Linked DNA regions of Homo sapiens: regions 2, 3, 4, 5, 6 and 7 are each linked to region 1. Evidence: promoter capture Hi-C in 16 types of primary human blood cells and fetal thymus (Javierre and others, 2016). All regions are on one chromosome and are shown on one strand. The core of a region is centred on a gene start or on the middle of the fragment in contact, and the rest is flanking DNA. Distances in the headings are between cores, read along the strand shown. Region 1 holds the start of MAGEL2 (MAGE family member L2). Region 2 has its middle 52 kb from the start of LINC02250. Region 3 has its middle 22 kb from the start of LINC02250. Region 4 overlaps LINC02250 (long intergenic non-protein coding RNA 2250). Region 5 overlaps LINC02250 (long intergenic non-protein coding RNA 2250). Region 6 overlaps LINC02250 (long intergenic non-protein coding RNA 2250). Region 7 overlaps LINC02250 (long intergenic non-protein coding RNA 2250).

Evidence for each region. The method cuts DNA at HindIII sites, captures the fragments that hold promoters and counts their contacts. A CHiCAGO score of 5 or more calls a contact.
Region 2: a contact is called between a fragment that was not itself captured here and the fragment with the promoter of MAGEL2 in region 1, in 4 of 17 cell types (M2 macrophages, total CD8 T cells, M1 macrophages and 1 more). The highest score is 7.2, in M2 macrophages.
Region 3: a fragment that was not itself captured here is called in contact with the fragment with the promoter of MAGEL2 in region 1 in 6 of 17 cell types (total B cells, M0 macrophages, non-activated CD4 T cells and 3 more); the score reaches 10.7 in total B cells.
Region 4: a contact is called between a fragment that was not itself captured here and the fragment with the promoter of MAGEL2 in region 1, in 2 of 17 cell types (total CD4 T cells and M2 macrophages). The highest score is 7.1, in total CD4 T cells.
Region 5: a fragment that was not itself captured here is called in contact with the fragment with the promoter of MAGEL2 in region 1 in 9 of 17 cell types (M2 macrophages, non-activated CD4 T cells, M1 macrophages and 6 more); the score reaches 11.6 in M2 macrophages.
Region 6: a fragment that was not itself captured here is called in contact with the fragment with the promoter of MAGEL2 in region 1 in 16 of 17 cell types (M0 macrophages, naive B cells, non-activated CD4 T cells and 13 more); the score reaches 38.9 in M0 macrophages.
Region 7: a fragment that was not itself captured here is called in contact with the fragment with the promoter of MAGEL2 in region 1 in 4 of 17 cell types (M0 macrophages, M1 macrophages, naive B cells and 1 more); the score reaches 8.4 in M0 macrophages.

The regions. Positions count from the first base shown.
Region 1 is chr15:23,646,135-23,649,294 of GRCh38, reverse strand. MAGEL2 (MAGE family member L2) reads left to right here and starts at 1,428. Exons shown (of 1, transcript NM_019066.5): 1 at 1,428-3,160. The coding sequence starts at 1,553. RefSeq lists an enhancer at 2,141-2,985. The HindIII fragment of the contact is 5,160 bases long and covers 288-3,160 here.
Region 2 is chr15:25,629,568-25,632,727 of GRCh38, reverse strand. No RefSeq gene overlaps it. Among named protein-coding and RNA genes, the nearest start is that of LINC02250, 52 kb to the right of the region's middle. The HindIII fragment of the contact is 1,477 bases long and covers 687-2,163 here.
Region 3 is chr15:25,599,647-25,602,806 of GRCh38, reverse strand. No RefSeq gene overlaps it. Among named protein-coding and RNA genes, the nearest start is that of LINC02250, 22 kb to the right of the region's middle. The HindIII fragment of the contact is 208 bases long and covers 1,318-1,525 here.
Region 4 is chr15:25,570,183-25,573,342 of GRCh38, reverse strand. All of the region lies in intron 1 of LINC02250 (long intergenic non-protein coding RNA 2250), which reads left to right. Among named protein-coding and RNA genes, the nearest start is that of LINC02250, 7.0 kb to the left of the region's middle. The HindIII fragment of the contact is 1,240 bases long and covers 1,018-2,257 here.
Region 5 is chr15:25,537,582-25,540,741 of GRCh38, reverse strand. All of the region lies in intron 1 of LINC02250 (long intergenic non-protein coding RNA 2250), which reads left to right. Among named protein-coding and RNA genes, the nearest start is that of LINC02250, 40 kb to the left of the region's middle. The HindIII fragment of the contact is 1,709 bases long and covers 796-2,504 here.
Region 6 is chr15:25,487,143-25,490,302 of GRCh38, reverse strand. All of the region lies in intron 4 of LINC02250 (long intergenic non-protein coding RNA 2250), which reads left to right. Among named protein-coding and RNA genes, the nearest start is that of UBE3A, 50 kb to the right of the region's middle. The HindIII fragment of the contact is 3,038 bases long and covers 132-3,160 here.
Region 7 is chr15:25,463,860-25,467,019 of GRCh38, reverse strand. The region is part of intron 4 of LINC02250 (long intergenic non-protein coding RNA 2250); the gene reads left to right. Among named protein-coding and RNA genes, the nearest start is that of UBE3A, 26 kb to the right of the region's middle. The HindIII fragment of the contact is 1,332 bases long and covers 796-2,127 here.

The sequences.
Region 1 (3,160 bases), core at 179-2,678:
TAAGTGTCCAGAAAATCACTGAAACTTTACCCCCAAATTCTTCTATTATTGTTTAAGGCAATAATAACATTGGGAGTGTGTACATACCTTCTCTTGGGTCCATAAATTACCAAATTTGAGGACCCCTGGCTAAGGGTACCTGGGAAGGAGTGGGGTGTACCCTTCATCGTCCTCATCTGCCCCCTGGTGGCACGTTTTGTCACTCTGGACTCCTGCCGTAGGCTGCCAACAGCCTATTTAAACGAAACATCCTTGATATTTAGTGCTTTGTATATTTCCAGAAAGCTTTTCAATTACTGAGATTATCACTTCCTCTCACCATAAAGTTGTATAGCATTGCCCAATAATACTATTGTCATCTGCTTTATCTGTTAATACTTGATTTGTCTCATATTTAAACTGATTTTTGTCACGAGAAGTTTCCCCAGAAATTTTTTTATTCTTTGCCTGTTTTTCCTATATATCCAAATATATCAATTTTTGATCTATTTATATACCCATTTTGTTATCTTCAGGTGCGTTATTTGGTTTTCATTTTTTAAATTTCTTTCCCATTCTGCAGATGAAAAATACTGAGAAACCTACTCTGTTCCTGCATCCGAGCCATTCCACAGGCAGTTTTCCCATACTAAAAATGCTGTCTTCCACTGATGTGTGGCATGTCTCAGTTCCGTGACTTCTTTTCCTCTCTCTCTACTCGCTGCTGTCCCTTTTCTCCATGTGTCTCTAACATGCCTGTGTTCTTCAAGACCCAGTGCAACCACATTCCCTCCCACAACTCTATTTTCATGAGGAATAGCCAAGCAGGACTCCCAAGACATCATACAGGAGTGCCTACAGGGTATCTCTCCTTGGCAGTCCCACAGCACCGCAAATGCCCTGTGTCTGCCAATACTCATCAGCCTCTCTTCCCGTGTGCCTCTCCTGGGACCCTAAGAGAGTAACAGTCCCTGCAACTTCCCACTTTCTCCAGGCAGGGACTTGTGTGCCTTTTCCATGTCTTTGACTCCTTTATTCAATTATAATACAGGTATCTGTCTGCTATAACTCCTGGAACTCTCTTATGTAAATGCGCTTTTTTCATTCTCCGCCTCACATCTTAGCCCAGACCACACCATCTCCCCCCGCCGTCTTGGATACCTTCCATGTTTCCAGTGGTCTGCTCCCACTCCACACTGCAGTACAGTGATTTTTCTAAAACATGGATGGGTTCCTGTCACTCCCCTGTGAAAAGTCATCCATGTGGAGTCTGACTGGTCTGCATTTGGGGACTGGACAGAGTGAGAAGGGATCCTGTGTCAGCCAGGACTCCGGTAGACGCCCCTATGCAATATCCACTTGTGGTGGTCGGGGGCGGGGAAGGGGCGGGATTGAGCCCCCTTCCCCCCTCCTCCTTACTGCGGAAAGCTGCGGAGCGAGCAGCACTCACTTCCTATTCAGCATTCAGCAGGGAGGGAGCCTCTGAACAGCCACGTAGGCATTCTCTTCTCTCTGGAGGAAAAGGCCCAGCAGCTGTCCGAGGAAAAGACCCACCAGCTGTCAGCAAAGGGACATGTCGCAGCTAAGTAAGAATCTGGGTGACTCGAGTCCTCCGGCGGAGGCCCCGAAGCCGCCTGTCTATAGCCGCCCTACGGTTCTGATGCGGGCCCCGCCCGCTTCCTCCCGGGCTCCGCCAGTCCCTTGGGATCCACCTCCAATTGACTTGCAGGCTTCATTGGCCGCTTGGCAGGCACCTCAGCCTGCCTGGGAGGCCCCACAGGGCCAGCTGCCCGCCCCGGTGGTTCCGATGACCCAGCCTCCTGCCCTAGGGGGCCCGATAGTCCCGGCTCCCCCGCTGGGGGGCCCGATGGGTAAGCCTCCGACTCCCGGGGTCCTGATGGTGCATCCTCCACCTCCGGGAGCCCCGATGGCCCAGCCTCCGACCCCGGGAGTCCTGATGGTGCATCCTTCAGCTCCCGGAGCTCCCATGGCCCATCCTCCTCCTCCGGGGACCCCAATGTCCCACCCTCCCCCTCCGGGGACCCCAATGGCCCATCCTCCTCCTCCGGGGACCCCGATGGCCCATCCTCCTCCTCCGGGGACCCCGATGGTGCATCCTCCTCCTCCGGGGACCCCGATGGCTCATCCTCCCCCTCCGGGGACACCGATGGCTCATCCTCCCCCTCCGGGGACACCGATGGCTCATCCTCCACCTCCGGGGACACCGATGGCTCATCCTCCCCCTCCGGGTACACCGATGGCCCAGCCTCCAGCTCCGGGAGTCCTGATGGCCCAGCCTCTGACTCCGGGAGTCCTGATGGTCCAGCCTGCTGCTCCGGGAGCACCGATGGTCCAGCCGCCTCCAGCAGCCATGATGACCCAGCCTCAGCCTTCAGGAGCACCGATGGCCAAGCCTCCAGGTCCAGGAGTCCTGATGATTCATCCTCCAGGTGCGAGAGCTCCGATGACCCAGCCTCCAGCTTCAGGAGCACCGATGGCACAGCCGGCGGCCCCACCTGCACAGCCGATGGCCCCACCTGCACAGCCGATGGCTTCTTGGGCCCCGCAGGCTCAGCCTCTGATCCTGCAAATCCAGTCTCAAGTTATAAGGGCTCCTCCGCAGGTTCCCCAGGGCCCGCAGGCACCCCCAGCGCAGCTAGCCACACCCCCGGGCTGGCAGGCGACCTCGCCAGGATGGCAGGCCACGCAGCAAGGCTGGCAGGCCACTCCCCTGACTTGGCAGACCACGCAGGTCACCTGGCAGGCACCAGCCGTTACCTGGCAGGTGCCGCCGCCCATGCGCCAGGGGCCCCCGCCCATCCGCCCTGGCCCACCACCCATCCGCCCTGGCCCACCACCGGTGCGACAGGCCCCACCGCTGATCCGCCAGGCCCCACCGGTGATCCGCCAGGCCCCACCCGTGATCCGCCAGGCCCCACCCGTGATCCGCCAGGCCCCCGCTGTGATCCGCCAGGCCCCACCTGTGATCCGCCAGGCCCCACCTGTGATCCGCCAGGCTCCACCTGTGATCCGCCAGGCCCCGCCGCTGATCCGCCAGGCGCCGCCGCCCATCCGACCTGCCCCACAGGTCCTGGCCACCCAGCCACCGCTCTGGCAGGCCCTGCCACCCCCACCTCCACTGCGGCAGGCCCCGCAGGCTAGGCTGCCGGCCCCGCAGGTG
Region 2 (3,160 bases), core at 176-2,675, 2.0 Mb before region 1:
GCTGGGAAGGTGCCTCCCCCAGTTATTCACCTAGATAATTCCTACTCATTCTGCAAGATATGCCTCAAATTCATTCTGCAAGACTTGCCTCAAATAAATGTCACCTCCCTTTGGACTGTGCCCTGCCTGCCTAGGTGGTCTCTCTCACCTGCACATTCTCACAGCACCTATCTCGTTGCTTGGGATAGCTATTTACAGATTGGTGCCATGCACCTGTGAGTCCCTCTGAGGCAAGGACTTTGCATTCTGGGGGACTGTATTTTCAGTGCCCAGCACAGAGAAACCTAGTGATATGGGCTGAGTGACGGGAGTGAGCGTGTGCACCTCTTAAAAACATACATGACACCGCAGTAGCTAGACGTTCAACATTTTGCATTTACACTTACTCAAGAGAAACTCTCCTAAAGACCCTCCCACAATGGCCTCTCTGGGCTGGCAGGGCTCTTCCAGCTTCCTGCACCTTCCCGAAGGAATCCTTGGGCTGCAGCTGAGGTCCTGGAGCACCAGGGAGCAAGCCCCATGCCTGATCCATCAAGATGCTCGCCGCCTTAGAGTCGGTGGCGTTGGTGCCCGGCCCTAGTGCGCCCAGATAGTGTTGTCATGTGATTTAGTTAAATATTACCTAATCCCATGACAATATGAGTGGGGAAAGAGTTACTGTTTCTATGAAAATGAAGTTCAAAGCTTTGGAAAGACTCAATCAAGGTGAATCATGAAAAAACATTATGTCCAATTAAGTGTGTGGGAAGAAACTCTAACAAATGGAGGGAAGTAAAATTCCATAAGAATTCCACGCTTAGAGTCTGTCCAAAAGTCTTTAAGCTCTCATGTCACTTTAAATCTGTTGAAACTGATAAATATGGACAATGTATTACAACTGTGTGCTCTGAACAGGAAGTCAATATAGATCTGAAATCACCAAATCAGATGACCAGCACGTACATCTATGTCTTTAGGCTTCAAGTTAAAATAAAATGTTATACACACACACACAGACACACACATACATGCATACACACATATACATATAGACACGCACGTATACCTATGTATGTTCACATATGTAACTATGTTTACATGTGATGTGCATATGTGTGTGCCCACGCACATACCTGCACATGCCTACATAGACACACACATATACACATCACATATATACACATGTGCATGTAATAGATATATATATATATATATATGCTCATATATAATGATTTTCTACTTTAAATAATTTTGGCTGTATGCTTACTCACTACAGGGTTCACAGGAATTAGATAAGAGAGCTCCTAGTAAATACTTTAAATACTTTAAAAATACTCAAATAATTAAATATGTGTGTAGATGTAAATACATACTTTGAATATTTATGTTTATACATTAACATTTGTGTAAATATACTTCGTATGTTGAATATGTTTTTGCAGATATACATAGTACATAAATTAAACCTTTTGCTTCCTCAGTGTTCTGCCTTTGAGCATTTTTAGGTCAGATGGTTGTCATGGTCAGCCCTGGAAGCCGATGCTGAGATGAAGCTGGGCACACAGGGTGCTTGCTAGGGATCAACACTATGGGAGGAGAAGCAAGAAGTGGGATTTGTTCAGGGGAAGTTGGGCTGAGGGGTGACCCAGAAGTGGCTTCAGCTGGCCCTAGGGGGGCTCCTTAGCTAGTTAGTGTTGTTTCTAAGGTGGACAGAGATGGACAGGCCTTCCTATAACCACTTGGATCCATCACTGGGTGTGGGCCACCCCAGGGAGGGATGCATCCATGGACAAGGTGGCTCTGAAGCAGAGGCAGTCCCCAAGGGTCTGGCAGCTGGAAACCACCTGCCACCAGCACTCCCTGGAGCTGGGCAGAGAGTTTGTCATTGAAGGGACTCTGGACAGCACCTCCCAGGGGCCATGACAAAGCTGATTGGGTTAGCTCTAGAACAAGGCATCTGTATCCTGTGGAAGACGTCCCAAAGCAGCTACTAGAAGCCTCTGGATTAAAAACTCAGTGCTTTACTTATCATATACCATTTCTCCTTTTCTTGTCCTCAGAATGCCATGCTCCTCCACTTTAGGATGAAGAGAGTATTCAGGAAGCCAAACTTTTAGTGGGAAATCCTGGAATTTTCACTGAGAGCATGCTCAGCAAGAGCTGTAAATGGTGGCTAATAAAGCTTTTTGGCCCCAGACTATGTCATCAGATAAACACAAACTTTTTCTCCAACACATGTGAATTCTAATGCCCAGTTACTCCTCTCTTAATAAAGACTCAATAACAGTTATTCAAAGAATGATAACACTTGCCCATTGTAGAGGTGGGTTCATCTCTGATGCCACCACTGGCTGGTCCTAATTCAAATAGGCCTTTGGGCTGGGGACTTTCCCAGTTACCATGTGCCCTCAGCCATGCTGCCCAGGAGGAGGGATGGATGCCAGCTGGGGCTGCCTGGCTCTTGGGAACAAACACCCTGTGGCCCTGTGGTGATGGGGGTCATGAGGTTCTGTATCCCATAGTTTTGACAAAGTTGTGCTTCAGACCGTCCTTGCACTATGCACATGCAATTTACAAACTGGGTTCTAGAGCTTGGAAGATCCATGTAGGCTCTGACTCCGGAGAGGTTCTCTCGGTCTTCTCTGACCCTAGGCTGTCTCATCTCCCCCCATATCCCATCCCTAATCATCTTTATTTCAACTTTTCTTCTTTCTTTTCAAAATTGCTGTTTATTTCTCTCTTTCAATTTTCTTTATTTTTTTAATTTAACAAAGCAAAGCATGCCTCTTGTAAAAAGAGACCCAGCAGGAAAAATGTATGAAGTGAAAGTTAATGGAAATTAAACAACTTGCTCCTGAATGACTTTTGGGTAAATAATGAAGTTATTGTAGAAATTAAGAAATTCTTTGAAACTAATAAGAACAAAGATATGACATATCAGAATCTCTGGGACACAGCTAAGGCAGTGTTAAGAGGGAAATTTATAGCCCTAAACACCCACATCAAAAAGTTAGAAAGACCTCAAGTTAACAACCTAACATCACAACTAAAAAAAACTAGAGAAGCAAGAACAAACCAACCTCAGAGCTAGCAGAAGACAAGAAATAACCAAAATCAGAGCTGAACTGAAGGAGCTTAGGACACGAAAAACCATTCAAAAGACCAAAAAATCCAGGAGTTG
Region 3 (3,160 bases), core at 172-2,671, 2.0 Mb before region 1:
ATGGTGTTGGGAAAACTGAATATCCACGTGCAAAATAATGAAATTGTATGCTTTCTTATATGAAACACAAAAATTAACTCAAAATAGATTAATGATTTGAATGTAATAGCTGAAACCATACAACTTCTAGAAGAAAACATGAGGGAAAAGCTTAAGTGGGACAGCAAAGGAAACTATCAACAGCGTAAAAAGCCAACTTATAGGATGGAAGAAAATATTTGCAAACCATATATCTGATAACGGGTTAATTTCCAAAATACATAAAGAGATTCTAAACTCAATAGCAAAAACAAAAACAAAACAGAAGCAAACAAAAAACCTGGTTAAAAAATGAACAAAGGATTGGAATAGACATCTCTCCAAAGAACACCTACAAATGATGGACAACAGGTATACAAAAAGATACTCAGCTTTACCCATCGGCAGGGAAATGCACATCAAAACCACAATCAGATATTATCTTGCACCTATTAGGATGGCTACTATAAAAATATTTATAAATATTAGTGAGGTTTGTATACTGCTGATAGTAATGTAAAATGGTATAGCCATCATGAAAAACAGTATGAAAATTTTTCAAAAAATTAACAATTAAACTACCATATGATCCAGAAATCTCACCTCTGGGTATACATCCATAACAATTGAAGTCAGGATCTTGAAGGGATAGCTGCACTCCCATGTTCACTGCAGGTTTATTCACAATAGCCAACATATGGAAACAACTCAAATGTCCGTTGAAAAATTAACAGATAAAGAAAAATTGGTATATCCATGTAATAGAATATTATCCAGCCTTAAAAAAAAGAAGGAAAGCCTACAGTCTGTGACAACATGAATAAACCTGGAAGACATTATGCTAAGTGAAAGAAGTCAGTCACCTAATTATGTGCAGTTTCTTTTATGCCAATTATACCTCAATAAAGCTAAAAAAAAATGGGGAGGGGGGAGAGAGGACACATGGTTGGTATTACACATGAGAAAGATTGCTTTGAATGTGGTGGGCTGAATAGATTGGGGAGGAGGGGTGCAGGAGATGAGATTATAGGCCAGGATAGAAAGCTGGAGAGAGCAGAAATAGGGTGGGAACCTTGAAAGGATGGCTAGGTCAGACAAGTAGGAGTAGGAAAGGGAGCAGGGCAGAAAGAATGCACACCAGATTGCTTGAAGGTGCAACAGGTTTCTTAAAGAATCAAGATCACGCTTTAATTTAAAAACTTTTTTTATCCATTCTTATTGACAAGTGGCACTTGCCCAGATATATTTTTTTCAGGGTAGAAGTTTGTGATAAATTGAAGTAAAATTAACACAAAAGCTTAACTTATATAAAAGGACCCCAACAGCAGTCACAAGACTGTGTTACTGTAGGTCCTGTGCAGGATTGCAGAGACGTAGCCTAACCTCTACACTAAGGTCTTGCCATGTAGACCAGTCTGGTCTCGAACTCCAGCATTCCTGCCTTGCTTGGCCTCCCAAAGCACTGGGATTATAGGCAAGGCATGAGCCACTGCAACCAGCCAAAGCTTTTTTTTTTTTTTTTTTTTTTTTTTTCACAGACAGGGTCTCACTCTGTTGCCCAGGCTGGAATGCAGTGGCACAGTCATAGCTCACTGCAGCCTTGATCTCCTGGGCTCAAGCTGTCTTTCCACCTCAGTATCTCAAGTAACTGGGACTACAATTGCATATCACCACACCTGACTATTTTTTTTAAAAAAACAGTATTTGTAGAGATAGGGATCTCACTATGTTGCCCAGGCTGGTCTTGAACTCCTGGCCTCAAGCTGTCCACCTGCTTCTGCCTCCCAAAGTGCTGGGATTACAGGGATTACAGATGTGAGTCACCATGTGGGCCTTCCTCCCTTGTTTCTGGCAATGGTGGGTGCTGAGTCTTCTGTAGATTTTAATGACATGACTCAGAGTCTCCTTCCACCCAGTCTCAAAGGACAAGTTGAGTAAGGTGAGTAGCACCCCACATTTCCACGCTCCAAATTGTCTTTTCCATGCTGAGGTTCAGTTCTAAGTGTTGGAACTCTCTTATGAGCCTCCCTTCTCTTGCTCAAGTTAAATTTCTTTTCCTGGCGTTCCTTTGTATATCAGCAAAAAAATTCTTCAAGAGGCCAGAGAACAAACCTGGACTTGTCTACCTAGCAAGAAGTTTGTAGCTTAGACTGACTACCCAAAAGTAACTTGAATGTTAATTTTCTGCCCAATATTTTAGTATAAAAAATTGAAACATAAAGAAGAGCTGAAAAATTACTGCAGTGAACATTCACATACCCACAGTAGTATTCAATATTCCACATTTTGTCGTATTTACTTCTGTATCTGTCTAATCTATCTGTGTGTTTTTTGTTTTGTTTTGTTTTGAGATGAAGTCTTACTCAGTCACCCAGGCTGGAGTGCAGTGGCACGATCTCAGCTTACTGCAACCTCTACCTCCCAAGTTCAAGTGATTCTCCTGCCTCGGCCTCCTGAGTAGCTGGGATTACAGGTGTGTGCCACCACACCCAGCTAATTTTTGTATTTTTAGTAGAGGTGGGGTTTCACCATGTTGGCCAGGCTGGCCTTGAACTCCTGACCTCAAGAGATCTGCCCACTTTGGCCTCCCAAAGTGCTGGGATTACAGGCATGAGCCACTGCCCCTGGCCAACTATCCATGTGTTTTTTGAATCATTAGAAAGTGAGTTGCAGTTGTTACGACACTTCACTGCTTCAGCATGCGTTTTCTAGGAAAAAGAACAGTCTCCTCTGTGACCACAGTAGCATAATCACAATTTTAAAAATTAACCTCAATTTCCTAATATCATCTCATATCCAGTATATACCAACATTTTCCCAGTTGTCTCAGAAATGATTTTATAGCTCAAATTTTTAAAAACATAGAAAGAACCAAGATTCACAGATTGCATTTGGCTGTTTCATGTTCTTAGCCCCTTTTGATTATGACGTTAGAAGAGGCCAGGACAATGTCTCACGAAATGCCCACATTCTGGATTTGTATGGCAGTGTCATCGGTGGCGTCATTTTATTTGGTGCTCTCTTCCCTGTGTTTTCTATAAACCAGAAGTCAGACAAAAAGATTCAGTTAGGTTTAGTGTAAACATTTTCATCAAGTGTACTTTAACTTGACTATTGAAAATATTTCCCAAGCTTTAAAAGC
Region 4 (3,160 bases), core at 388-2,887, 1.9 Mb before region 1:
TTTTAATTGTTATGAATATTTCATCCTTATTTTGTTATGAATATGTTTGTTTATGTGTGTGTATATTTAGAAAATATCTCATTTCTTCCCTCTCTTATCCTCTTATTGACTTTTTATCATAGTATTTAAGTATAGTCATGTGTTGCTTAATGACAGGGATATGTTCTGAAAAATGCATCATTAGGTGATTTCATTGTTATGCAAACATTGTAGAGTGTACTCACACAAACTTGGATGGTACACCTACTACACACCTAGGCTATATGGTACAGCCTACTGCTCCTAGGCTACAAACCTGTATAGCATGTTACTATGCTGAATGCCGTAGGCAGTTGTAACACACTTGTCAGTATGTGTATATCTAAACATATCTAAATATAGAAAAGGTAGAGTAAAAATACAGTATTATAATCTTATGGGACCATTGTTGTATATAAGTTTTGTTCTTGACCATAAGGTCATTATATGGTACATGACTGTATTGTTAACTTTACATCATAGTATTTAAGTTGCAGGCTATCGAGAGGCATAAGCATCACCTGAGGACGTTGCATACTCTTTTGGGGAGGGAGTTAGTGCATTTTTGGTTGTATGCAGGACAATTATGATAGGTGAAAGATGGCCTTGTTATCATCTTTGTTTGGAAATTAAGTATGGTTTAAGGAGATGTGTATAGCTGCCCAGATGACAAGGGGTGGACTTGCACTGGCTAATTTTATAGTCAACTTGGCTGGGTCACAGTGTCCAGTTATTTGGTCAAGCATTATTCTGGATGTTTCTGTGAAGGTGGTTTTTGTTGAGATTAACCAAAACTGATAGACTGGGAGTAAAGCAGATTACCCCCCATAATGTGAGTGGGCCTCATCCTGTCGGCTGAAGGCGCTCAATAGAACAATGACTGGCCTCTCCTGAGCAAGAAGGAACTCTGCCAGCTGACTGCCTTTGCAACTTGGACTGACATTCTCCCCCGCGTCTCTAGCCTGCCAATCTACCCTGCAGATTTTGGACTTACAAGCTTCCACAGTCTTGTAGGCCAATTCCTTAAAAATAAATCTCACTGTATATACACATCCTGTTGTTTCTGTTTCTCTGGAGAATTCTGATTAATATGCTAGAAAACCTTACTGAAAGAAATGAAAGAAGACCAAAATAAATGAAAAGATGTTCCATGTTTAGAGGTTGAAAAGTTCGTATTGTTTAGATGTCAATTCCTCCCGTATCTTTTGATGAATTCAGATATAGCTAAACAGTTTTTTTAAAGAGATGAAATTGAGAAGCTGATTTTAAAATATATATGAAAAGACAAAGGACCTGAAAGAAACAGAATACTTAATGAAGAAGAGCAAAGTTCAAGGATTTCAAGAATTCTTTTGAAGCTACAGTAGTTCAGATAGACTGGTATTAGAGGAAGGATGGACAAAGAGAACAGTGGAATAGAACAGAGGATCCAGAAATAGACCCACATGTGGTTTACCACGAAGGTGCTGCTGCTATTCAGATGGAAACAGATGGTCTGGATAATAAACAGAGCAACTGGATACCTGTATGGAAAAAAGAAAACACCTTACCCATATCTTACCCTAAAAATGAAAATTAGTTTAAGTTGGGTCATATACCTAAATGTGAAAGCTAAAACAATTCTGGAAGGAGATAAGAGAGAATGTTTTCATGATCTTGTTTTTCTGAGGTCTTGCTCTGTCTCCCAGCTTGGAGTGCAGTAGCACGATATTAGCTCACTGCAGCTTCAAACTCCTGAACTCAAGCCATCTTCCCACCTCAGCCTCCCACCTCAGCCTTCCAAGTAGCAGGGACTACAGGTGCATGCCACCACACCTGGCTAATTTTTTTTTATTTTCTGTAGAGATGGGGACTCACTTTGTTGTTCAGGCTGGCCTCAACCTCTTGGCTTCAAGCAATCCTCCCACACTGGCCTCCCAAAGTGTTGGGATTATAGGCATTAAGCCACCATACTTGGCCTTCATTTTCTTAATGGACTTAGAAGAGCCTTTTGTAAAACTTGTTTTTACAATTTCTTTTTTAAAAAATCTAAATTGCATAATTGACAAATAATAATTGTATATATTTGTGAAGTATAATGTGAAGTTTGGAGTGGCATGATTAAATCAAGCTAATTAACCTGTCCACCACATCACTTATCATTTTCTGTGGTGAGGCATTTGGTATTTACTTTTAGCGGTTTTGAAATATACAATACATTAACTATATTCACCATGCTGTGCAATAGATCTCAGAAGCTTATTCTTCCTATGTAACTGAAACTTTGTACCCTTTAAACAACCTCTACCCATTCCCCTTCCCCCATGCCCCAGCCCCTGCTAGCCACGATTTTATTCACCATATCTACGAGTTCAACATTTTCAGATTACATATATATAAGTGAGATCATGCTGTATTTGTCTTCCTGTGCCTGGCTTATTTTGTTTTTTACAGGTTCATTCTTCACTGTGAACTCAGAAGTTCACTGCCCCATTGATCTTGAGAAAAATGAAATGTGTGCCATGCTGCAGGAAAGTTAGGAAGGCCTTGGGGTGGATCTTGACAGGCTCATGTTCACCCTGCACATGACTTTGCTTCCCTGCCTCCTAATCTCCGACCCACACCTCATTCTCTTCTCCCTAACCCCTCCCCTATTCTATGTGCCTCAGGGTACAATAGCCTCATGCCCCCCTACAGGAGCTGGCTTTGATTCATCTAATAGGATTTATGCGATCCCACAGCCTGATCTTACCCCAGTGGCTGGCCCTTTACCCAAGTCTATGGCATTCCCTGGATGAAAAACTTGCTTCGGAAATGGGCCTATAGCCTGATTTTGGCCAGTGTGATGGAAGCGGGGCTGTAGGCACCTTCTGGGTAGTGTAGCTCCAGACTTTAAGTCTCTGGAACTACAGAAGCCATTTTGCCGTGGTTCAGAGGGCAGAGGGACAGAAAGAGCCAGTCCACGGGGTCATTGTTGAGTCATTGGATGAAACCCACCCTGAAGACTCTACCAGTCAGGATGAGCAAGAAGATGGGGTGATCTCAAACCATGACCTCAGCATCAACTCGCAAAAGTTAGTTTCTCACTCATGGCCAGCTGTGGGCCTGCGTGGGCTCCAGGGCTGTGCTCCCTGATGGGTGGCAGTGCATTCCAGGCTGTCCT
Region 5 (3,160 bases), core at 401-2,900, 1.9 Mb before region 1:
ACAATTGATTTATAACCTTGTTGCCACCAGCCAGACCATCAGGTGGCCCGTTACTCAAGATAACCATCACAACCAGATATGCTGACCTGTGTACCCTACCCCTCACATACTGTGCCCAACCCAGCCTACATATCTATCCCTGATGTCAATTCCCATCCTTTGCCAAAAAAAAAAAAAAAAAGCCCTACTGGCTCTTTTCAGAGAGTCAGCCAGATAGCGCTCTCTCTCTCTCTCTCTCTCTCTCTCTCTCTCTCTCTCTCTCTCTGGTGCTGCCTCCCTTATGCACCAGCATAAGCTCCAGTGAAGCCTTGTCTGGGAAAACTCTCTGATCTCATGTCAATTTCTATTGCATTGGGAGACCAAGAAGGTGGGTAACAACTGATCTATGCAATCTCAATAAAAATCCCAATGAGTTTTTTAAAGGACATTATTAATACAATTCTGAAATTTAAGTGGAAATGCAAAGAACTAAGAATACTTAAGATACGCTTTAAGAAGAATAATGAGGGGAGAGTTTCCTCTTCCACCTATCATGATTTATTATAAAACTGTAATAGTTCAGTTGATGGCATGATATTGTTCCCAAGGATAAACAAATAGACTCATGACAAATGGAACAGATAGCCTAGAAACAGGCCAGTGCATATATTAACCCTTGATTTTTGAAAAGGTGGTACATCAAACAATGGGGAAGAAAACGATATTATTTTATATAAATAGTGTTGGGTCAATTGTATTATTTACCCTTTTGAAAACAGAATTAAAGTTGACCTTCTCACATAAAAAAATCAAGCTTAGGTAGATTGTAGACCTAAATATAAAAGGCAAAACAACATATTTTCAAGGAGGTAATAAAGGAAAATATTTTCACAGTCTTGAGTGTAGAGAAAGATTTCTTAAATAGGACACAAAAAGGGCTAATCATAAATAAAAAGATAAATCATTCAAATCACATTCAAATTAAGAATGTCCATTCCTTAAAAGGCACCATTAAGAGAGTGAGAAGGCAAGCCACAGAGAGAGAGAAGATATTTGCAATTCATGTAATCAACAAAATACTCAGATCTAGAATATCAAAAGCATCCCTAACGAATCCATAAGAAAAGATAGACGACTCTATTGAAAAATGAGCAAGTGATCCAGAGATTTCTCAAAAAATGTACTGTCCTAAATGGGCAATAAATTTATGAAAAGTTTCTCAATCTTGTTAGTAGTAATTGGGAAATGCAAATTAAACTACAACGAGAAAGACGGCCAATCACAAGTGTTTGGTGAGGATGTGGAGCGCACTGTTGCTGGAGCACAAGTTACTGCCACTTTGTTTTTTGTGTTTTGGGGGCGATGGAGTCTCACTCTGTCATCTAGGCTGGAGTGCAGTGGCGTGATCTTAGCTCACTGCAACCTCTGTCTCCTGGGTTCAAGCGATTCTCCTGCCTCAGCCTCCCAAGTAGCTGGGATTACAGGTGCGCATCACCAACATGCCCGGCTATTTTTGTATTTTTAGCAGAGACGGAGTTTCACCATGTTGGCCAGACTGGTCTCAAACTCTTGACCTCAAATGATCTGCCACTCCAGCCTGCCAAAGTGCTGGGATTACAGGCATGCACCACCATGCCCAGCTAATGTTTCACCATGTTGGTCAGCTAGTCTCAAACTCCTGACCTCAAGTGATCTGCCCGCCTCGGCCTCCCAAAATGCTGGGATTACAGGTGTGAGCCACTGCACCTGGCCAGTTACTCTCACTTTGGAAACTGTCTGGCTACATTACTGGAGTTGGAAATAAGTATCACTATGCCTAGGGTGACCATATTTTGAGAGTGAATGTAGGCTTTTACCAGATAGGACAACAGGCATAAATTGGGATTGTTCCAAGCAAACTAGGATGTGTGCTCACATCAATTGTGGTATATTCTCTTACCCAGCAATGCCACTTCTAGGAACGCCAAGACACAGGCCCAAGCAGACACAGAGCAGCATCTTATGTAAGAGCCCCAAACTGGGAACAATCCAAATGCCCATCCACTTAGAGTGTATACATAAATTGTGGTGTATTCATACAGTAAAACATTAGACAATTAGGAATACATCAGCTAGAGATACATGAAACAATATGCTGACTCTCACACAGTATCGAGAAAAAAGTGAGATACAAAAAAAGTGCATGTTGTATAATTTCAGGCAACATAACATAAATCATAGTGCGATAAGTCAGGATAGTGTCACGGTAGCAGACAGTCTAATGCCTTCCCTAAAAGATGTCCACACACCAATCCCCAAAATCTATGAACATGTTACTTTTGAGGAAAGAGCTTTTATCTGAGTAATGCAAGTCCTTTTAATTATCAGGCTCAGAGAGACCTTAAAATGAGGCAGCAATTGTGTCTTGCTTCCCCCCATGAGCTTCCCCCCATGTTCATCTCATGAAACTGCTTGCTATTGCCACAAGTAGCCATAAATTAACCCAATAATGCCACACCAGACACTATAACACACATCCTAAAGCTTAACAATGGATAGCCAATCACTAATCAATGTTATTCCTGTAAACCAATGAGAATTCCTAACAAACAACTTTGTATCAGCCCACTTCCTGCCCCACTTTTTTGCATTAAAAAATCCACTAGTAACTGTGGCTGTTCTGAGTGTATATTCAGGGCTACTTGAATCCAGGCCCTCAAGCTTGGCCCCAAGTGGACTTTCCACGTAATTTTGCATCAGCTTCTTCCTTTCAGGCCAGCACCTTATATGGCAAAAGGGACTTTGCAGATGTGATTAAGGTTGAAAACTGTGAAATGGAGAGATTATCCTGGACTATCCCAAGGGCCTAGTGTAATCTCAAGAATCCTTAGAAGAGAAATAGGGAGGCAGGAGAGTCAGAACCAGAGATGTGACAACTGAAGTCATGTCAGAGTGATGCCTTGTGAGAAAGACTTGACTGACCATCGCTGGCTCTAAAGACAGAGATGGGGCCATGACCCAAGGAATGTGTGTGGAGTGTGGAAGCTGGAAAAGCTTATTCCCTAGGGCCCCAAGAAGGAACACAGCCCTGCCCGCACCTTGATTGTAGACCCATGGATACTATTTCAGCCTCCTGACTCCAGAACTATGAGATAAATTAGTGTGTTAAGCTACTAAATTCATGCTAATTTGTTACAGCAGG
Region 6 (3,160 bases), core at 401-2,900, 1.8 Mb before region 1:
CTAGTGTACAACTTTAATTTCTTTGTTGTTCCTTTTACTATGTATTTTTTTAGTTATTTTTGAGTGGTTAATAACATAGTAACAATATCTTTCAGATTAAACTAACTTAATTGTAATGGTATTCAAAAGCTTCATTTAAATATAGCTCCATTCTCCTTTCATTGTGCATCATGGAAACTATATACATTAAAAGCTCATCAACAAAGTTTTATAATTATTGCTATGTGGAGTTGTCTTTTAAATCAGAAAGTAAAGTGTTACAAACTCATGCGGATTCAAGTTACTAATAAATATCACTTAATTTCAGCCTGCAATACTTCCTTCAGTGTTTCTTGGGGAGCAGGTCATCTACCACTGAACTTTCTCAGTTTTGTTTTTGGGGTTTTTTTGAGACAGAGTCTTGCTCTGTTGCCCAGGTGGGAGTGCAGTGGTGTGATCTCAGGTCACTGCAACTTCTGCCTTGCAGGTTCAAATGATTCTCCTGCCTCAGCCTCCCACGTAGCTGGGACTACAGGTACCTGCCACCACACCCAGCTAATTTTTAGTAGAGATGGGGTTTCACCATGTCTGCCAGGCTGGTCTCAAACTCCTGACCTCAAGTGATCCTCCTGCCTCAGCCTCCCAAAGTGCTGGGATTACAGGCATGAGCCACCACACCTGGCCTCAGTTTTTTAAAATCTACAGCAGCTTTAATTTATCCTTTATATATAAAAGATAGTTTTGCTGGATATAGAATTCTTGATTGACATTCTTTTTCTTTTGGCACTTTGAATATGTCATTTCATTGCATTCTCATCTCTATGATTTTTTTATGGAAAGCTAGCTATTAATCTTATTATAGATCACTTGCATGTAATGAGTCATTTTTCTCTGTCTTCAGTATTCCTTATTTGTCTTTTAACAGTTTTGCCTATTATATGTGTAAGTGTAGATTTCTTTCAGTTTATCTAATTTGATATTCTTGGATATGAACATAAATGCTTCCATCAAAATTGGGATGTTTTGGTCATTGTTTTCCTCAAGTATTCCTTCTCCTCCTTTTTCTCATTTCTCTCATTCTTGGACTGCCTTTATGGGTAGGTTGGTGTGCTTGATGGTGTCCCATAGGTATTTATGACTGTTAATTTTTCTTCATTCTTTTATATATTTCTGTTTCCCAGGCTGCATAATCTGAATTGACCTATTTTCAAACTCATTGATTCTTTCTTCTGTAAGATTAAATCTTCTGTTGAAACCCTCTAAGAAATTTTACATTTCATTATGATAGTTTTATTTATGTTTTGATTAATTAATTAATTAATTTTGAGACAGAGTCTTGCTCTGTCATCCAGGCTGGAGTGCAATGGTGTGATCTTGGCTCACAGCAACCTCTGCCTCCCAGCTTCAAGCAATTCTTCTGCCTCAGCCTCCCAAGTAGGTGGGATTATAGACACCTGCCACCACGCCTGGCTAATTTTTTGTATTTTTAGTAGAGATGGGATTTCTCCATGTTGGCCAGGCTGGTCTTGAACTCCTAACCTCAGGTAATCCACCTGATTTGGCCTCCCAAAGTTCTGGGATTACAGGCATGAGCCACTGCACCTGGCCTCATCTTATCTTAAGCTAAAACTTAAGATAGTTTTAGCTCTACAGTTGCCATTTGATTCTTTTATTATTCTCCAGATGGAAATTAAGAGAAATAAAGTGAAAAATGGAAAATTTGGGGCAAAGTTTAATGTGGAAGGACTCTCACAATGACCTTACGGTTTTTATTCTCTGGCTTGGCCAAAATGTAAATGGAAGTGGATGTGTCAGCCTCTTTACTCCATTCTCTGGCCAACTGTCCCTTTTTTAGTCCTGAAGAGGAAGACTTATTTCCTTCCTCAGCTTACTTCTTCCTATCTGCGAGTCTATTTCCTTTGAAAATGGTAAACTTTCTGTTAGCAAATGCTAAATGTGAGCAAAAGTGTTTCTTTCCCACACTTGAATCTTCAGTGGCTAGGCCACTGCCCAGTAAATACTAGCTGCTCAACAATTTTTTATTAAATAAAATGCACTATCTTTGTGGGTACATTCCCTTATAATTTAACTTATTAAAATTTTACCACCAGAATAGTAGGTTGACAATCCCTATGAATCTACCTTTCCATCAGAGCAATAAACACAGTAGCCAAAATTGTCAAAAAATCAGTTATTTAAGAGATCTTGAAATTAACCAAAGGTTTACAGTAATCTGAGGAGAGTTTGTTCCAGAAAAACTGCTGAAAGTGGGAAAGAACAGAGGGTTTATGGCATTGTAACATAATCTAGCCCCATATCCCTCTGTCTAGCTATACAATAGACTTGAAAACTATCTGGAGAATAATACAATTCTTAAAATAAAAAGTCTACAGTATGCCTTGATCAGAACAGCAGAAAAGGACCAATATGTACAGAGGAAAAAACTATTCTATTGCTAGATTTAGGGACACTGAAATGTCAAGTATAAAAAGTAGGTGACAGGAAGCAGAAAATAAAGCTAGAAAGATAAAAAAGACAATAGGCTGGATGCTATAGGTGTCTCCTTAATAGAAAAGGGTGCTTAGGGACAGCCATGGATGGATAATTTGTTTCAGGGGTTTAACTGGCCACAGGTCTCTGTATTTCCATGATTCAGGGGGTGTATGAGTCACTCTAATTTCATTTTAAAGTGATTTCACTTTCACCAATTCAATATTGCAAAAATACACGGATTGCTTCCTTACAATTTGACAGAAAGTATTTCTGCATCTTTATTAAATGACCAGATCTTTTCCTCAGTAATAAATCGTATTAAAAGCATTGGAGAAAGTGTCAAGGCCAGCTTAATCTAAGAAACATCATCCAGCAATAACACAAGTGCTGTGATGTTACCTAAACGTCCTCAGCAGAAACTCAATTTCCTTCCTCTAGGATGTATTCAGTTTCCTTGCTTGTGGCCTTGTTCACACCCAGAGGCTGTATTACGGTCTGGTTCAAGATAAGCTGATTCCATTACTGGCCTATGGAGAACTCAATACAACGCTATAGGATGGAGACAGAAATTTACAGAAGAATGACAAAGAAATGCAAAATCTATGAACAGAAATAATTTGGGGATAAGCACAAAGCCACCAAGTCAATAATCCTTAATGTTAGAATCCATCCTGGAGGCGCAGACAGA
Region 7 (3,160 bases), core at 212-2,711, 1.8 Mb before region 1:
CAGAACCCAAGCACTCCCCAGATACACCCAGCACTGTGTGATTCTGGATCTTGCACATGCTTTGCATACAGCAGAATTTCTGGATCATCCTTCAAGATCTAAATTAAATATCCCTTTCTTGTGAAAACTCCCCAAATACTCCTGCAGAACTATTTACTCCTTACCGTCCCAAAATGACCTTTATCCACTCTCAGTCAAGTAACTACTACCACTTACCTATGAACATATTCCTCTACCATTGAACTATGAGCTCTTTGGGGACCAAGCATATGTGCTTATGTGTGGCGCCTACCACAGTTCCTTATCACAGTAGATGCTGCTTAATGGGCTAGGCCTCGCCAGAGAGGAATTGGACCTGGAAATTTTATATGCCAACTCTACTTGTGGCCAGTGCTTCCAGTATCCCTAGAGCTGTTCAGTGAAAAACATGGTCTCATTTTGAAATAAGCATGGGAACAGCACTTAATTACAGTTCTGAACTTGGAGAACTGTAATACATGAAAACATGTTAAAAGCTCTACAAAGTCACATCTTAAGAAAACTACCTATATATAACTAAATGTCGCCTACATTTATTTAATCACCCCACACCCAGTGCCTAGTAACACCCTGCAGACCACACTTTGGGAACCCCTGGGACACAGACTGTAAAGTGGCCTGGATTTGGATGATTGAGGACAAGGTTCCAGGTCTGGAGGGTCACACGTGAAGCAGGGGCCACATTCCTAGCAGTTGTCCACATGTGGAGGTCAAGATCCGTTCTGGAAGGCAGGCAAACAGGGTCATGGTGAAGCTTGGAGCAGGCATTTATGCAGCTGCTCAGGCAGGTGCACAAGGTAGCAGTTTCAGCTGCTAACCTGTGGTGCTGGCAGAGAATTTCAGGCTCTGAGAGAACTGCCAAGAGTAGCTGTGCCCCAGTTCCTGAAGTGGGTTAGAAGATGGGAATTAGTCACCAGAACATGGCAAGAACCCAGGTACTGAACCTGGGGCACAAAGTCAAAGGAAAACTGCAACAAGGTCCCATCAAGGCATGCAAGGCATTGGAGAGGTCTGGGCTCTGAGCCAGAGAGAATTTTGGCTAGGCGCCTAGGAGGCTGGGTAGGTTGTTACAGTCTAAGGACAAGCACAAATCCTCAGGTGGGTCAGTGAGGAATCCCTCCAGAGCAAGTGGTCATTTGGCTACAGCCCAAGACAGGTTGAAAAAAGCCAAAACGAAGAGTGAAAGAGTACGCTGGGGCCATTTCATGGATGCTTGGATTTTCTCCTGTCCACATGACTTGAAGGGAGAGGAACTGTACTTGTGGAGGGTGCAAAAAGGCTTGGAACACAAGAGACAATGACCCTGCACACAACAAGCTGACAGTGGGTTTTCTTTGGTTAGGCAATAAGAAGGGGAAATGGGAAGTCTGGGAGAGAGAACTGACAGAATCTGGCAACTGATTCAATGTAGAATCGAGATTTTTAAACTAGGAGGATGTCAGAAGTGTTATTATGGAAAGGGAGACCATTTGACTTAGGCATCAGGGGACCAGTCTCAGCCAGTAAAAATTGTGTGATGTTGGAAAAATCAGGCCTCACTTCTTTAGGTCTCAGTTTCTTCATCTGTAAAATGGGGCTAACAATGCTATGCACCTGACAGAGCTGCTGTGAGAATCAAAAATGTAAAGCTCTTGGCACTGTCCCTGGCACATGATAAACCCCTGCTGCTGAGAGTTTAAAACAATTTGTTGATCAAAACATCTCCATCACAAGGAGAACCTGATTAGGGAATTTAAAAAACGATATGTCTCAGTTTAGACATTTTTAGTAGAGGTAGTGGCTCTATGGAGCACACATCTGGAAATACAGGCCTGGCACGTGGGGGAGAGACTAGAGGAAAGCTAAAGGCTGGGAAATGATCTTCATCAACGTAATTGCCACAGCCTTGAAAAAAAAATGCAATCCCCATAGCAGAGACAACTGACAAAAGAAGAAAGAAAGAAATCTAACAGCAAACCACAGTGACTGTTTAAATTTCAGAGTGACAAAAGACACTAGGGACCAAGGAGGATCTCTGTGGTTAACACAGGATCAGCACAGAATCAAAGTACTTGAGGAGCTGAGATGCTGCCTGAAAAATGAGAAGCTTTTAAGAGTATTACAGGATGGACCAAGTTCTAAGAAGATCAAGACTGAGAGAGTGTAATTAGGGCTTGCCTATTAAGATGTTACTAGCAAGCTTTGGGAAAGCATTCTCAGAAAAGTGGCAGAAAACTAAAAGATTAAGAACAGGTATTTGGCAGAGAACCAAAGATTAGGCTAGTGTCTAATCTTGAGCTCGAGTCTGTTACTGAAAGACAGGAAAAAAGAAGATGGAATAGTAACTCAAGAAGGTAAAAGATCAAATTCCACCCAGCAACTTCCACTTATATCTTATTGGTTGAAACCATATCATGTGGCTACCCCTAGTTGCAAGGGAGGCTGGGAAATGTTTTTTTAAAATTTGGCACAACATGGCCATAATTAATGTTGGAGTTCTGATGGTAAGAAAGTGAAGATGACTGGGGAATTAGTATGCAAGTATGTTTCATAGTAGAATGAAGTATGTACTATAATTACATTTCAATCTTTGAAGGGACAATGTCATAAATCTTGTGCCTCTCAAAACAGAGAACTATTCTAACATCAGGAAAATAGATTCAAATATCTTACATTCTATCAGTTGCCCCAGGTATGCTCCATTTTAGATGAATTCATAATTGTAGTATGATCTTCTACAGTTTTTATGTTCCTGAAATTTTTCATTGTCTTATCTTTTTTCTTGTTGAGAAAAGACTTCCAATAATTTCCAACATTTTCCTCGTTCCACTTATTGCTTAGAGTCAATCCACTTTTTCTTGACAATATTCTTCCTAGAGCTCACTAATATCCTAACATGGCCTCATAATTTCTCTCTTCCTCCTTCCCTCCCTCCCTTTCTTTCTCCTTTCCTTGCTTTGTTATTCTCTCTCTCTCTCTCCCCGTCTCATTCTCTTTTCTCCTATTCTGAAGGACCTGAGGCCACAGAGCTGAGTTAATGACAAAATTTACATATATTGATATATTAGTTGGCTATTTTTAATAACACTCACCTACAAACTCATCATCTGAACAAAAGCCAGAACCTTTACAAAGATCACAC